2 separate regions of the Homo sapiens genome follow, and region 1 is linked to region 2. Evidence: promoter capture Hi-C in 16 types of primary human blood cells and fetal thymus (Javierre and others, 2016). All regions are on one chromosome and are shown on one strand. The core of a region is centred on a gene start or on the middle of the fragment in contact, and the rest is flanking DNA. Distances in the headings are between cores, read along the strand shown. Region 1 overlaps SDK2 (sidekick cell adhesion molecule 2). Region 2 holds the start of CPSF4L (cleavage and polyadenylation specific factor 4 like).

Region 1 (6,774 bases), core at 3,971-6,470, 100 kb after region 2:
TGGGCCTGCCAGGATGGACTGTTGTCCCCCTGGGCTACCCCTATGCTCCATATTCCAAATCCCAGGGCAGAAGACAAATGGAATGGTCCAGAAAGGTCCCTGGAGTAGAGCCAGGAGACCTGGGTTCCAGCCCAGAACGTGTTAGATGGGTGATTTTGATCAATTCACATAGCCTTCCAGTGCCTCCGTTTCCCCCTCTATAAGGGCCTTTTGGAAGGTAAGGCTTGAAGGCTGTGTCCTGGATGGTGGGGAATAGAGGTGGGTGCGATGATGGCAGAGTGGGCCCATGAGAGGAGGGGGTTGGTCGGAGCGGGGCTGAAGAGTCCAGTTTCTCCCTCCTGGTAGGTGATATGATGTCCGCCCTCCCTCATTCCTGCCTAAAATCCCCCAACCCCAACTGCATTTCCTATTAGGTTAGACAAGGGGAGAGGGGGTTTATGCCCCAGGAGGCCTTGGGGCCTGTGCTGCTAGGAGGAGGGAGGAAGGACTGGGCCCCATGCCGCGCTCCTGGAATGAAGGTACGTCAGGAGCAGCCTGGGATGTGGGCCAGTGAGGGAGCCGGCCCTAGGAGCTGGAGCAGATGAGAGGAGGTGACTCCAGCAATGAGAGGAGTGAGCCAGGTATCTGTCTGCAAGGGGCTCTGAGCCCCTTCTCTTGGGGGTGCCCGTCCAGAATCCCGACCCCACATGCTGTCACCTCCAATCCTGCTCCCCACCAAAGGTGGGGCTCTGTACCCCCAGAGCTGGGTACACAGTAGGTGCTTCCTCTGTGCTTAGGGGATGAGGGAGGGAACCAGTGCATGAGTGGGTGGCCACCTGGTTTGTTGGTGGGGGGTCTCTGTGGAGCAGAGTCTAGCATCACACTGATGCTCCCCCAGGGCCCTGGAGGGCCAGCAGGCCCTCCTTACACAGCCTGGCAACCCCACCCGGCCACTATGCCCACCCCATCGCTCACACAGCCTGGCAGCCCCGCCTGGCCCCTATGCCCACCCCACAGCATTGGAGGGCACCATTTCCTTCCTTCCCTATGGAGCAGCCTGTCTGCAGCACAAGGGCAGAGTAACTGCGGGGTCAGGTGGGGTGGACACGCCTGAGGGAGTATGGTAGGGCAGGCAGCCCTCAGGACCCTGTACTCATCCTGCACAGGACAGTACTCAGGGCTGAGGACAGAGCCTGCACCTTCTCCGGGGCCAGGAGCTTCCAGCGAGTCCAGCCACTGCCTGGCTGCATGTTCCCCGCCTGCAGACCGCCCCCTGCACCCACACCATGTGGGAGGATGGCTTCTTTATTTCTTTTTTTGAGACACGTTCTCACTCTGTTGCCCAGGCGGGAGTGCAGGGGCACGATCACAGCTCACTGCAGCCTCCACCTCCTGGGCTCAAACGATTCTCCCACGACAGCCTCCTGAGTAGCTGGGACTTCAGGTATTCACCAGTATGCCTGGATAATTTTATTTTTGTAGAGATGGGGTTTTGCTGTATTGCCCAGGCTGGTCTTGAACTCCTGGGCTCAGGCAATCCACCCGCCTCCACCTCCCAAAATGTTGGGATTACAGGCGTGAACCCCCACACCCGGCTGGTTCTTTCTTTCTCAGAGTGCCCTCCACTACCTTCTCTGAACCCTCTGCCCTTTATCTCCTCCCACCTCCCCACCTCTCAGCCTGGGACACTTCAAGCCTCAGGATAGAACAGCCTGTCCTCCGCACAGCCCTCTCCTGTCCCCAGGCCACTGCCAACGCTTGGTCCTCAGTTGCTTGCCAGCTCTCTCTCCTACTTTTGTTTCCCAGGAAGCTGGCTCAGGTGAGAGGCAGCGCGGGGCGGGGCTGGAGGCAGATGAAAGGACAGCGGCTGGGTGGCTCCTGGGCTGCCTCCTGCAGGCTTTGTCCTGAGTTTGCCCTAGAGCTACAGGGCTTCTTTGCAGAACCAGACTGTGGGGAATAGAAAGTGACTGGCCAGAAAGAAAAAGTGAAGCGCAGCCAGACTAAGCCATTAGGGGAAGACTCTCTTCCTGAGTCAGGCTAATTGGGACTGCTGGGGAGGGGAGGCCTGCGCCATTCTTGGCTGAAGGGGGTGGGCAGAGGAGGAGATGGGATTTTAGGGGAAGTCCAGGATGGGCTGTACCCCTTCTTAGGGAGGGAGGCAGCAGAGTGGTCTGGGAGGTGACTTTTGTGTTCAGGACAGGACATTCTACACTGACCAGTAACAGGGACTTTGGAGGGCTAAACCTTGACCATGGCAAATGCCTGGGGGGATGAGGGGTGGGAGGGGAAGGGAGGTGAAGAGGACATTTAAAGGAGGCGATTGGGCACAGTGGCTCATGCCTGTAATCCCAGCACTTTGGGAGACTGCAGCAGGTGGATCACTTGAGGTCAGGAGTTGGAGACCAGCCTGGCCAAACCCTGTCTCTACTAAAAATACAAAAATTAGCTGGTCGTGGTAGAAATCACCTGTAATCCCAGCTACTTGGGAGGCTGAAGCTTGAGAATTGCTTGAACCCGGGAGGTGGAGGTTGCAGTGAACTGAGATTGCACCACTGCACTCCAGCCTGGATGACAGAGCGAGACTCTGTCTCCAGAAAAAAAAAAAAAAAGCCCAAACAACAACAACAGAAACAATACAGGAGATTAAGGAAGACTTCCTGGGGTGAGGGGCGGGCAGTTACACACAAAAGGGCGTTCTGCGGAGGGGGTGGGTGGTGAGGTGGGGGAGGCAGGGCCCTGGCTGTGAATAGGTGACCTGCTCCATCAGGTGTTTCTCAAGGTGCCACTTTGTCACGGCCTCCAGGGGCTTTTGTCTAAGTGCAGACTGCCAGGTCCCACCTCAGCCCCAGGAAATCAACCCCTCGGAGCATCCACCCTGGGAACGTGCATTTTAGTGCGCCCTGCTCTGAGAACCGCTGCCTGGAGGGTAGGGGTGGTTCAGGGGCGTGGGAAGATGGCTCTGGCTGGGCGAAAGGCAGGGGCACCTGCCAGGCTGCATCCTTCCAGGACGGAAGTAAAGGAGGCCATGCAATTAGCAGGGAGAGAAAGAACGAAGCAGGCGCAGTGGCCAGGCCAGGCCTGTGGGCTGGGCCTAAGTGGGAGAGGAGGGGGCGCTGCTCCAGGGTTTGTGGCTTGAGGAACCTGAGGACACATTAATCAAAGCGTGGAGCCCGGGAGGAGGGAGCGGGGGGAGGGGTCACTGGGCACCAGGGGAAAGAGTGAGCTCTGTCCTCCACTCTGTTTCCAGGGTCCAGCACAGCTCTTGACACCGGGGGCCCCTTCTGACTGGGGACGCTGAACCGCCGTGTGGAAGACATGCCTGGTCCGTTGCTCTCCTACCTTCTCCGGGGCCCGTGGTGACGTTGGCTTCGATCTCCGGCCCGTAGGTGAAGGTCTTGGCTCTGATGCGGAACCTGTAGGTCACCCCCTCCGCCAGGTCCTTCACCTTCAGCCACAGGGGGCTGTTCCCCTTCACGTCCACGGTCACGATCTTGCTGACTCCTGGGGGAGGCACAGCAAGTGGGGACTGGGCACAGGGCCCACCGAGGGCACTGGAGGCCATGGGGAAGGGGAAGCGGCCGTGGCCTGGGCCCCGGGACCCTGGGTAGGGGCCTCACTCCTTGAGGTCAGGCTGAAATGCACCCCCAGCCCACACAACCACATTGCCCATGCTGTGTTTCTCACAGCACGGTCCTGCCTGCTGTTCTCAGGGAGAACGGCTCCATGGTTCAGTATGTTTGGGAAAAGCTACTACTGTCTGTGTCTACTGAGTAGCCACAGGGTCCATCATCAGCATCTACAGAAAAGAGAACACTCGCCATCCTGTTTAATGTAACCTCTGCACCCCAAATATGTTTCGGCTCCATTGCTATTCCCTTATGCAGCATCCCATGGGACTAGAATTATATCCTTTTTCAGGAAGTGCTTCCATAAAAATACCAAAAGCCCAGAGTTGCGGGGACACACTTTTGACCAGGTCCTCCACCTGAGCCCCACTCCAGCTCCACCTCTGGGGTTCAGCCAGGAGCTCACATGGCCCTCCAGCACCTATATCTGCCACAATTTTTTTTTTTTTTTTAAGACAAGGTCTTGCTCTGTTGCTCAGGCACAATCATGGCTCACTGTAGCCTCGACCTCCTGGGTTCAAGCCGTCCTGCCACTTTCAGCCTTCCAAGTAGCTAAGACTGTAGGTGTGCACCATCATGCCTGGCTAATTTTTAAATTTTTGTAGAGACAGGGTCTCATTATGTTGCCCAGGCTGGTCGCGAACTCCTGGCCTCAAGTGATCCTCCCACCTTGGCCTCTCAAAGTGCTGGGATTATAGGCATGAACCACTATGCCCAGTCCACCAAGCTTTTTAGGGCAAAAGTGAGGATGCCTCAGCACCCCAAATCACAGCAACTAGAGGGGACGCTTGAGCCAGCTTTCAGGAGGTGGGGGTTTGCACTCTGTGCTTCGCGAATCCAAATACTCCTGACTGCCAGCCTCCCTGGGAGCCGGGGTTAGTGTCATTTCCCATGTCCATCGAGCACGCCAGTCACCAGTGAAAGACAGGCCTTGCAGCCAATAGGCTGGGCTCAGACCCAGTGATGGCGCCGGCCCCGGCATGTCCCTTAACTTGGCTTCAGTTTGTTCTGCCGAGTGAGGGTGTCCACAGCATCTTAGGCAGGGATGCTATGAGCTTTAAGTAAAATAACAGAGCATGTAGGTGCCTGACCTATTTATTGACTAAGTGGATTACTAATATTATCGTTTTGAGGTGGATTTTCACTATTGTTGCCCAGGCTGGAGTGCAATGGCGCGATCTCAGCTCACTGAAACCTCCGCCTCCTGGGTTCAAGCGATTCTCCTGCCTCAGCCTCCCGAGTAGGCGTCCACTACCACACCCAGCTAATTTTGTATTTTTAGTAGAGACAGGATTTTGCCACGTTGGTCAGGCTGGTCTCGAACTCCTGAACTCAGGTGATCCACCGCCTCGGCCTCCCGAAGTGCTGGGATTGCAGGTGTGAGCCACTGCACCCGGCCGCTAAGTGGATTACTAAATGATGGAACAATGTAGGCTCAGAGGGGCTTCCTGAAAGAATGAAATGACCCTGGGACCAGGAACAGGGACTCTGGCTACCTGCTCCTTGACAATTCTGAACAAAGCCCTCATCTGCCTGGACCTTGGTTTTCCCTACAGGACAGTGGGGGCTGCTGGGCTTTTGTGAGGCTGGTTTGCTATTGACCTGAACCCAGGATGAACTGGGGTGTGGACACTGGGCTGTCCAGGCGGGGCCTTGTCTTGCTGTACTTATTAACTGAACTATTATGGGAAGATGGGAATGTGTAGGGGTGTGGAGTTGAGCCACACAGTCCAGATCCCACCAGACTGTGGAATTGGAAGGCAAAGAGCTCACATCCTCAAGTTGAGAGGGTCCTGGACAGGCCAGGTTGAGGCCCCTGTGAAGAGGGCTTGTGCTGGCCCCCTGTACCTTGTCTCGGGGACTGCTGTCCTCTGCCCCACTCCGGCCCTGCACCTGACTGGATCTCCTGCTGGGGCCTGGCTCCCCCCTGGTGTTCTAACACACAGCTCCCCTTTGCAGAACGAGCTGCTGGCACCCAGGTGGTAGCAGGGAAGACTGAGGGCCATTGTTCCCTAGGCTCACCGAGAACTGCTGGTCACAACGATGTTCCCAGGTCTCTGCCCCTTGTTCTTGCCAGGCTCCGTGATTGGAGGGGGTGAGAGTGAGAGGGGTGGCTCCAGAGGTCAGCCACACCCCCAGCACCTGGCTGGGACTAGTCCCAGGCAGTGAGGAACGCAGTTTCCTTCCTGCCTAAATCCCATCCTCATAGGATGGTTGTTCATAACAAAATGGCAGGGATTTCTTGGCATGTTACCAGGGGTAGAAAGCTGGCAGGTACCAGATGCCCATTGTCAGGGGCTGCGCAGCCCAGCCTAGGAGCCCAGAAATGGGCAGGTTCCCAGCTGGGGCCCGGAGGAAGGGGTCAGAAGACCAGTCAGATGAACAGGGTTAAGGACAAGAGCGAGGTCATTTGCAGAGCAGGGCTCTTGATCTGGGGTCCGCAGATAGCAGTGGGGGGTGCAGGGACCTCCTTGGTCTTGTGTATCTTCCTGGGGAGAGGCTCTGAAGCTTTGGTCAGATTCTCATCAGATTCTCCAAGGGGTTCCTGACTCCCACCAAAGCTAAAGAAGGACTAACCCACAGTAAAGCTGAGAACCCTAAGGTTTGGGAAAGGGCAAAGTAGGACCCTCAGGGGCTCCCCTCTTCTTTTTCTTTTCTTTTTTCCTTTTGAGATGGAATCTAGCTCTGTCGCCCAGGCTGGAGTGCAGTGGCGTGATCCCGGCTTACTGCAACCTCTGCCTGCCGGGTTCAAGCGATTCTCCTGCCTCAGCTTCCCGAGTAGCTGAGACTACAGGTACCCACCACCACACCCGGCTAATTTTTGTATTTTCAGTAGAGACGGGGTTTCACCATGTTGGCCAGGCTGGTCTTGGAACTCCTGACCTCAGGTGATCCACCCGCCTCAGCCTCCCAAAGTGCTGTCATTACAGGCGTGAGCCACCGTCCTTGGCTGCCCCCCTTCTTTATGGTCTCAACAGAGCCCTGTCCACTCAGGTTTCCCTTCCTTTCCTCCCTGTTTCCGTTGACCAAAGGGGGAAGAATATATTTAACGATTCTCTGCCTGGAAGTTAGGAGACCTGGATCTCTCTTCCAACTCTGCCCTCAACTTGCTGTTGTTTTACCTTGGAAATGCACTTTCCCTTGTCTGGGACTCAGTTTCCGTGTTTAT
Region 2 (6,263 bases), core at 2,740-5,239:
CAGCCCTCCAGGGGATTCCCCAGGAGGGTACCTGACTCAGTCCCCAGCGGCTGTCCCCTTATCCCTTCACCTGGACCCTGTAGGGGCTGGAACTGGGAGCCGAGGCAGCATGAAGGGAGAGCTTTTTTTTTTTTTTTGAGACAGAATCTCGCTCTGTCGCCCAGGTTGGAGTGCAGCGGCGCGATCTTGGCTCACTGCAAGCTCCGCCTCCTGGGTTCACGCCATTCTCCTGCCTCCATTTCCTGAGTAGCTGGGACTACAGGCGCCAGCCACCACGCCCTGCTAATTTTTTGTATTTTTTAGTAGAGACAGGGTTTCACCGTGTTAGCCAGGATGGTCTCGATCTCCTGACCTTGTGATCTGCCCACCTCGGCCTCCCAAAGTGCTGGGATTACAGGCGTGAGCCACCGCGCCCAGCCAAGCTCTTGTTTTTGAGATGGCGTCTCGCTCTGTTGCCCATGCTAGAGAGCAATGGCACGGTCTCAGCTCACTGCAACCTCCACCTCCCAGGTTCAAGTGATCCTCCTGCCTCAGCCTCCCAAGTAGCTGGGATTACACCTGCAACTACACCCGGCTATTTTTTTTATTTTTAGTAGAGACGGGGTTTCACCATGTTGGCCAGGCTGGTCTCGAACTCCTGATCTCAGGTGATCCATCCGCCTCAGCCTCCCAAAGTGCTGGGATTACAGGCTTGAGCCACCGTGACTGGCCAGGGCAAGCTCTTCTTAAAGCACAGCTGTTCCCACTACCACACCTTTGCCCATCCTTCCCATCTGCCTGGAGTGCCATGCCCTTCTCCAGGGAAGTACCTGGGCTCAGAACAGCTGCCTCCTTTTCATTCCCAGAGTGCCTAACACCCCCTCTCGTCCTGCCAGGGAGCGGGGCCAGGCTTTCCAGCCCAGAATCCCCACACCCAGCCCAGCCCCTGGCACATAGTAAGTGCTCAGTAAGGGTGTGTTGAATTCCCATCTTTAAAAACATCAAATGTTATGCTTCCCGATTCCAGAGACCTAACAGGGTGACAGAAGAGCCAACTTTGTAATGATTTATAAGGAATATTCCATGGAAATGTTACATTTAACTGCTTTATCATCTTCACTCAAGTCTGCCTTGCTATTAGCAGGAAGGACACCCAGTTCCTAAGTTTCTTTAATTTATTTATTTATTTGAGACAGGATCTTAGTCTGTTGCCCAGGCTGGAGTGCAATGGCAAAGTCATGGCTTACTGTAGCCTCAACCTCCTAGACTCAGGAGTTCTCCCATCTCAGCCTCCCGAGTAGCTGGGACTACAGGCATGCACCACCACACTGAGCTAATTTTTTTATTTTTTGTAGAGACAGGGCTTTGCCATGTCATCCAGGCTGGCAGTTCCTGAGTTTCTAAGCAGGTCCAGCCTCATGCCTGGCCAGTTCTCTGACATAATTTGGGGGCTAGGGGAGGTGTTCTTTCCATTTTTCCTTTTTTAAAAAAAAAAAATTATGTTTTGTAGAGATGGGGTCTCGCTATGTTGCCCAGGCTGGTCTTGAGCGATTCTCCAGCCTCTGCCTCTCAAAGTGCTGGAATTACAAGTGTGAGCCTACTCCCCCGGCCAAGGTGCTCTTTTTAAATACCCCTAACCTCCACCCCTGGCTATTGACTTGCTTGGTTCTGACCTTCCACCATAATAGCTTTCTTTCTTTGCAGAAGGGTGTTGCTAGGAACCACTGCTCTAGGGACTGGTTGGGCTGAGCTGAGGAGATGCCACTCAGTCCACATTGAGCCTGCAGGGTCCTGGGTGCACAAGGCCTTGGGCGACCAGTGATCCCATTTCCCTTCTCCCTGTATGGTCTAGGGCTGGCCCCAAGACAAACAAGGCAGGTGGGCGAACATGGCCCCAGGTCCTCCTTTCCTGGTCCCCTCCAGCCCCCCAGCTTCCAGGGACAGACTCATTTGGATCAGAAAACATGTCCTAAACTCTCACACCAGTGAGATTTCTTAACCTAAATGTATAGGCAAGCGGGAGGAAGACAGGGAAACCCTAAAACTGGAAGCCAGTTTTTTTTGGCAATTGTATATTTCTGTTGAAAGAGCCTCTACATGAGCCATGAGCCAGAAGAAAAGTTGAAAACTCTTATATTTGAATCAGGCCTTCCCAGAATGGCTGCATTTGGGGAGAGGGGCCTAGGAAGACAGTATTGACCCAAAGTCAGGGCAGGAGAGAAGTGGAGGATGCTTTTTGATAGCATTTCAAAGATGGTGGCAGGTGCTACCTCAGGGCATAGGGAATGGATGAGACAATTGACCAGTTTACAAACTGAGTCAGAGCAGGGGACTGGGGGAGAAGGATGCCTCTCTTCTAGCTGGGAGGAAATCAAGAAAAACATTAAGAAGCTGGAGCCTCCTGGGAATGCACAGGCCAAAGCTCAGACACACGCCCATCCCAGCAAGGCAGAAAGAAAAAAATACCCCTTTCCAGGCAGCCTGGTTACCCTGATGCGAACTGCAAACTATGAAGACTGCTGCTGAGGCGGGAAAATCTTAGGGGAGGGGCAGGCTGCTCGGTGGATCCAACCACTTATCCTTTGTCTACCTGTAAGTCTAAAATTCTGCTCCATGGCCGGGCATGGTGGCTCACGCCTGTAATCCCAGCACTTTGGGAGGCCCAGGCAGGTGGATCACCTGAGGTGAGGAGTTTGAGACCCGCCTGGCCAACATGACAAAACTCCATCTCTACTAAAAATGCAAAAATTAGCCGGGCTTGGTGGCATGCACCTGTAGTTCCAGTTACTCGGGAGGCTGAGGAAGGAGAATCGCTTGAACCCAGGAGGCAGAGGTTGCAGTGAGTTGAGATCACGCCAGATCACTCTAGCCTGGGCAACAGAGCGAGATTCCATCTAAAAATAAATAAATAAAATAAAAATAAAATTCCGTTCCATCCCAATTTTCCCTCCCCAGGTGCAAATTCGACACCCTATCCCAGGCCAGGCAGAGCCCCTGCTGGGTGTAGCTCAGACAGACCCTACACTCACCCAGCTTGGGGCCCAGGCCTGTCTGCTAACTCACCTTTCTCACAGAGCCCTTTAGTGAAGAAGTTGCACACAGCTGAGGCCGACTCTGGAAGGAGAAGAGGGAACGGAGAAGGTAGCTTCCCCAGAGGCTGCAGCTGTTCCGGAAGCCTCCACCTCCATCGGCATGTCCCACCTAGACCTCCCCCAGGCTCTGGCCTATGGGATCCCAAATCTGGGCCCTGTAGAGGTTAACCTGCAGAGCCAGCCAGCAGACCTCAACCCTTAACCCCCCAACTCTGAAACAGAGGAGCTCGAGGGGCTCAAGCCTGGCCCAGGAGCTCGGGAGGCCAGTGTGGCTTCTCTCAATTCACCGTCTCTCTGTGCCTCTCTTTCTCAGTCTGGAAAATGGGTTGCCCCGAAGCCACAGAAGAGAGAGACAGAGAAGGGGCGGTCGCATCAGGGAGTTGAGCAGAGAGGCCTGTAGAGAAGGAAGGGGGAGGGAGGCTGGGCGTGGTGGCTCATGCCTGTAATCCCAGCACTTTGGGAGGCCAAGGCGGGCGGATCACGAGGTCAGGAGATTGAGACCATCCTGGCTAACATGGTGAAACCCGGTCTCTACTAAAAATACAAAAAATCAGCTGGGCGTGGTGGCGGGCGCCTGTAGTCCCAGCTCCTCGGGAGGCTGAGGCAGGAGAATGGCGTGAACCCAGGAGGCAGAGCTTGCAATGAGCCGAGATTGTGCCACTACACTCCAGCCTGGGCTACAGAGCGAGACTCCGTCTCAAAGAAAAAAAAACAGAGAAGGTAGGGGAGGGAAAGTGGCCCCACCCTCACTCACTGTCCATGCCCTGGAAAGGCAGGAGCCCAGTGCCCTTCTGCATCTCGACATCCTTCTCGAAGGCAAAGGTGAACCGCTCTAGCCCCGCAATGACCTCTTGCATCTTCCGTCTCCTGCTGGGGCTGCGGAAGCTGCTGGAACCCAGGCAGGTGGGCCCAATATAGCTCATCAGAGGCCCTTAAGGGGCCAGCGCCCAATGCCTCCCCCTTCACCCCAGGGTGCCAGTGGCCAGGTGACTGCAGGGGACGCTCCAGCCTGGGCTGTACAGGAGCAGGGCCCAGCTGCCTCACCCGGCCCACCCAGTGCAGGGGCAGACACCCCAGGGCCCCTCACCCCCACACTGTGTACACAAGGCTCACTCGGATAGGGAGGGATTCGCAGAGCCCCACAAACTGCTTATCTTTGCATGTTACCGAACACAAACGTGGCGTGCACACAGACATTACCAAACCTGGGCTCATACTTTGTCCATGAAGACACAGCCACAGGTTAGCAAAGAGTTGCACAAACCAACCGCAGCAAGGCTGTTATTCTGCCAGAGCTGGGGGTGGTGGGGGTTTGCAGAGGGAGGGAGCCGTCCCACCTCCCCGCTTCTTCCCATGAGGGAAGGGGTCTCCCTCTGGGGCCCCTGACACCCCTTTTCTGGCCTGAGTGACAAGCCCCGAGTGAGCTCTTCGTGGGAGACAGGGAAAAAGGAATGAAGAGGAGAGGAACTGAAACAGTTGGATGAATGGCGCTTTGTTTACCTCGCACACAATCGCCAGCTTGGCGGGAGGGCGGAACCGACCAAGGCCAGGGCGGCCTCCCAGCCAGGATTCCACAGGGCCACCCAGTGCCACCCCACCCCTGAGAAAGTGCTTTATAAATGAAATCTCTATGCAAATGTTGTTTTATTATTATTACACCACCCCTGCCTGCAGGGCTGGGGACATCTGACAATGCTTTCAAAGGAGCATGTTAGGGCTCTAATTAGACCAGGTTCCCCCTCCCCCTGCTCTGGCCCCAAACTGGCCTTGCCTCTAACTAGAGCTGCTGTTCTCAGTCACATTGGCTTTTAATGCCCATAGAACCAGAACCCATACGCCCTCCTTTCTGGGTGCCCAAACCCAGCAGGGAGAGGTGGGCAGCCCCGCAGGCTCTCAGCTGGGCCAACATGAACTAGCCTGCTGGCTGTTGTTCCCCGTGGCTGTTGCTCCTAGATCTGTTCTTTTGAACTCCAGATCAGAAAAGAAAATAGCTGGAGAGATAGACACCTGGAGCCGAGGTGGGACTGGGAGGAGCAGGGACGAGATCCAAGAGTTTCCAGAAGCTCAGGCCTCTGACTGCATCCTGGGAGAGGCAGAGGGACCCAGCTCCAGGGCTAGAGGGTGGGGCCAAGGGGGTCCCTGGGGTAGAAACCCTGGCTTCTCTTGGCCTTAGTTGTATGCGTTGATTAGTAGTCCCAAGAATGCATTCATCTGTCAACACAGGCTCATTAAAGGCTCACAGAAGCCTGGCAGCGCAGGCAGGACTGATGAGGGAATCAAAGCCCAGGGAGGCCAAGACCACATGGTTTGGGAGGCGCTATGGATGGGGTTCACATCTAGGTCTCTTGATGACTTCCTTCCCTAAACATCCCTGAGCATCTCTGCACTAGGGCCACGTCCCTATCCTCAGAGATGGCCCCATCAAGGAGGGGACATTAGCCATTCACACAATAATGCGATGGAGGCATGAGGGGCCCAGCAGGGCAGGAAGGGGTAGCAGGCAGAGCTCTCTCAATGGAGAGTCATGATGATGGGGAGAGAATGTTCTGGAAGAAGGCCAGCAGTATGAAGGTTGGGGCATGGAGCAATGTGAAGGCTGAGGAGGCGCTCAAGGGTTTGGTTTGGCAGAAGCGGGGGTAAAGAGGTGGAATGGGGGCAATGAGGCTTAAGAGCTGAGAAGGGACCCAACTCTGGGGGGCCTGCTGGGGCCAGCTTTGGGGGGAAGTGATCGTGAAGGCAGCAGAGCCACCACAGGGCTCTGAGAACTGTACATGGCTCTCTGAGGGATGGTCGGGGGAAGACTGGACAGGGGCTGCTTAGAGGATGAATTTTTTTTTTTTTTTTTTTTTTGAGACTGAGTCTTGCTCTATTGACCAGGCTGGAGTGCAGTGGCGCGATCTCGGCTCACTGCAACCTCTGCCTCCCAGGTTCAAGCAATTCTCCTGCCTCAGCCTCCTGAGTAGCTGAGATTACAGGCCCACACCACCACACCTGGCTAATTTTTGTACTTTTAGTAGAGACAGGGTTTCGCCATATTGGCCAGGCTGGTCTCGAACTCCTGACCTCAGGTGATCTGCCTGCCTCATCCTCCCAAAGTGCTAGGATTACAGGCATGAGCCACCGTGCCCAGCCTGGGGATGATTTTTTAAAATCATGAGAGCCCTGGGGATATAGCCCAGAGATCTTTCTGCT

What was found. The method cuts DNA at HindIII sites, captures the fragments that hold promoters and counts their contacts. A CHiCAGO score of 5 or more calls a contact.
Region 1: a contact is called between a fragment that was not itself captured here and the fragment with the promoter of CPSF4L in region 2, in 6 of 17 cell types (monocytes, neutrophils, M1 macrophages and 3 more). The highest score is 10.4, in monocytes.

What each region holds. Positions count from the first base shown.
Region 1 is chr17:73,358,366-73,365,139 of GRCh38, forward strand. It overlaps SDK2 (sidekick cell adhesion molecule 2), which reads right to left. Exons shown (of 45, transcript NM_001144952.2): 39 at 3,319-3,480. Among named protein-coding and RNA genes, the nearest start is that of CDC42EP4, 50 kb to the left of the region's middle. RefSeq lists enhancers at 2,693-3,364, 5,182-6,157, 6,622-6,774. The HindIII fragment of the contact is 1,781 bases long and covers 4,331-6,111 here.
Region 2 is chr17:73,257,891-73,264,153 of GRCh38, forward strand. It overlaps CPSF4L (cleavage and polyadenylation specific factor 4 like), which reads right to left and starts at 3,990. Exons shown (of 6, transcript NM_001129885.1): 1 at 3,826-3,990; 2 at 3,043-3,093. The coding sequence starts at 3,928. The HindIII fragment of the contact is 15,055 bases long and covers 1-6,263 here.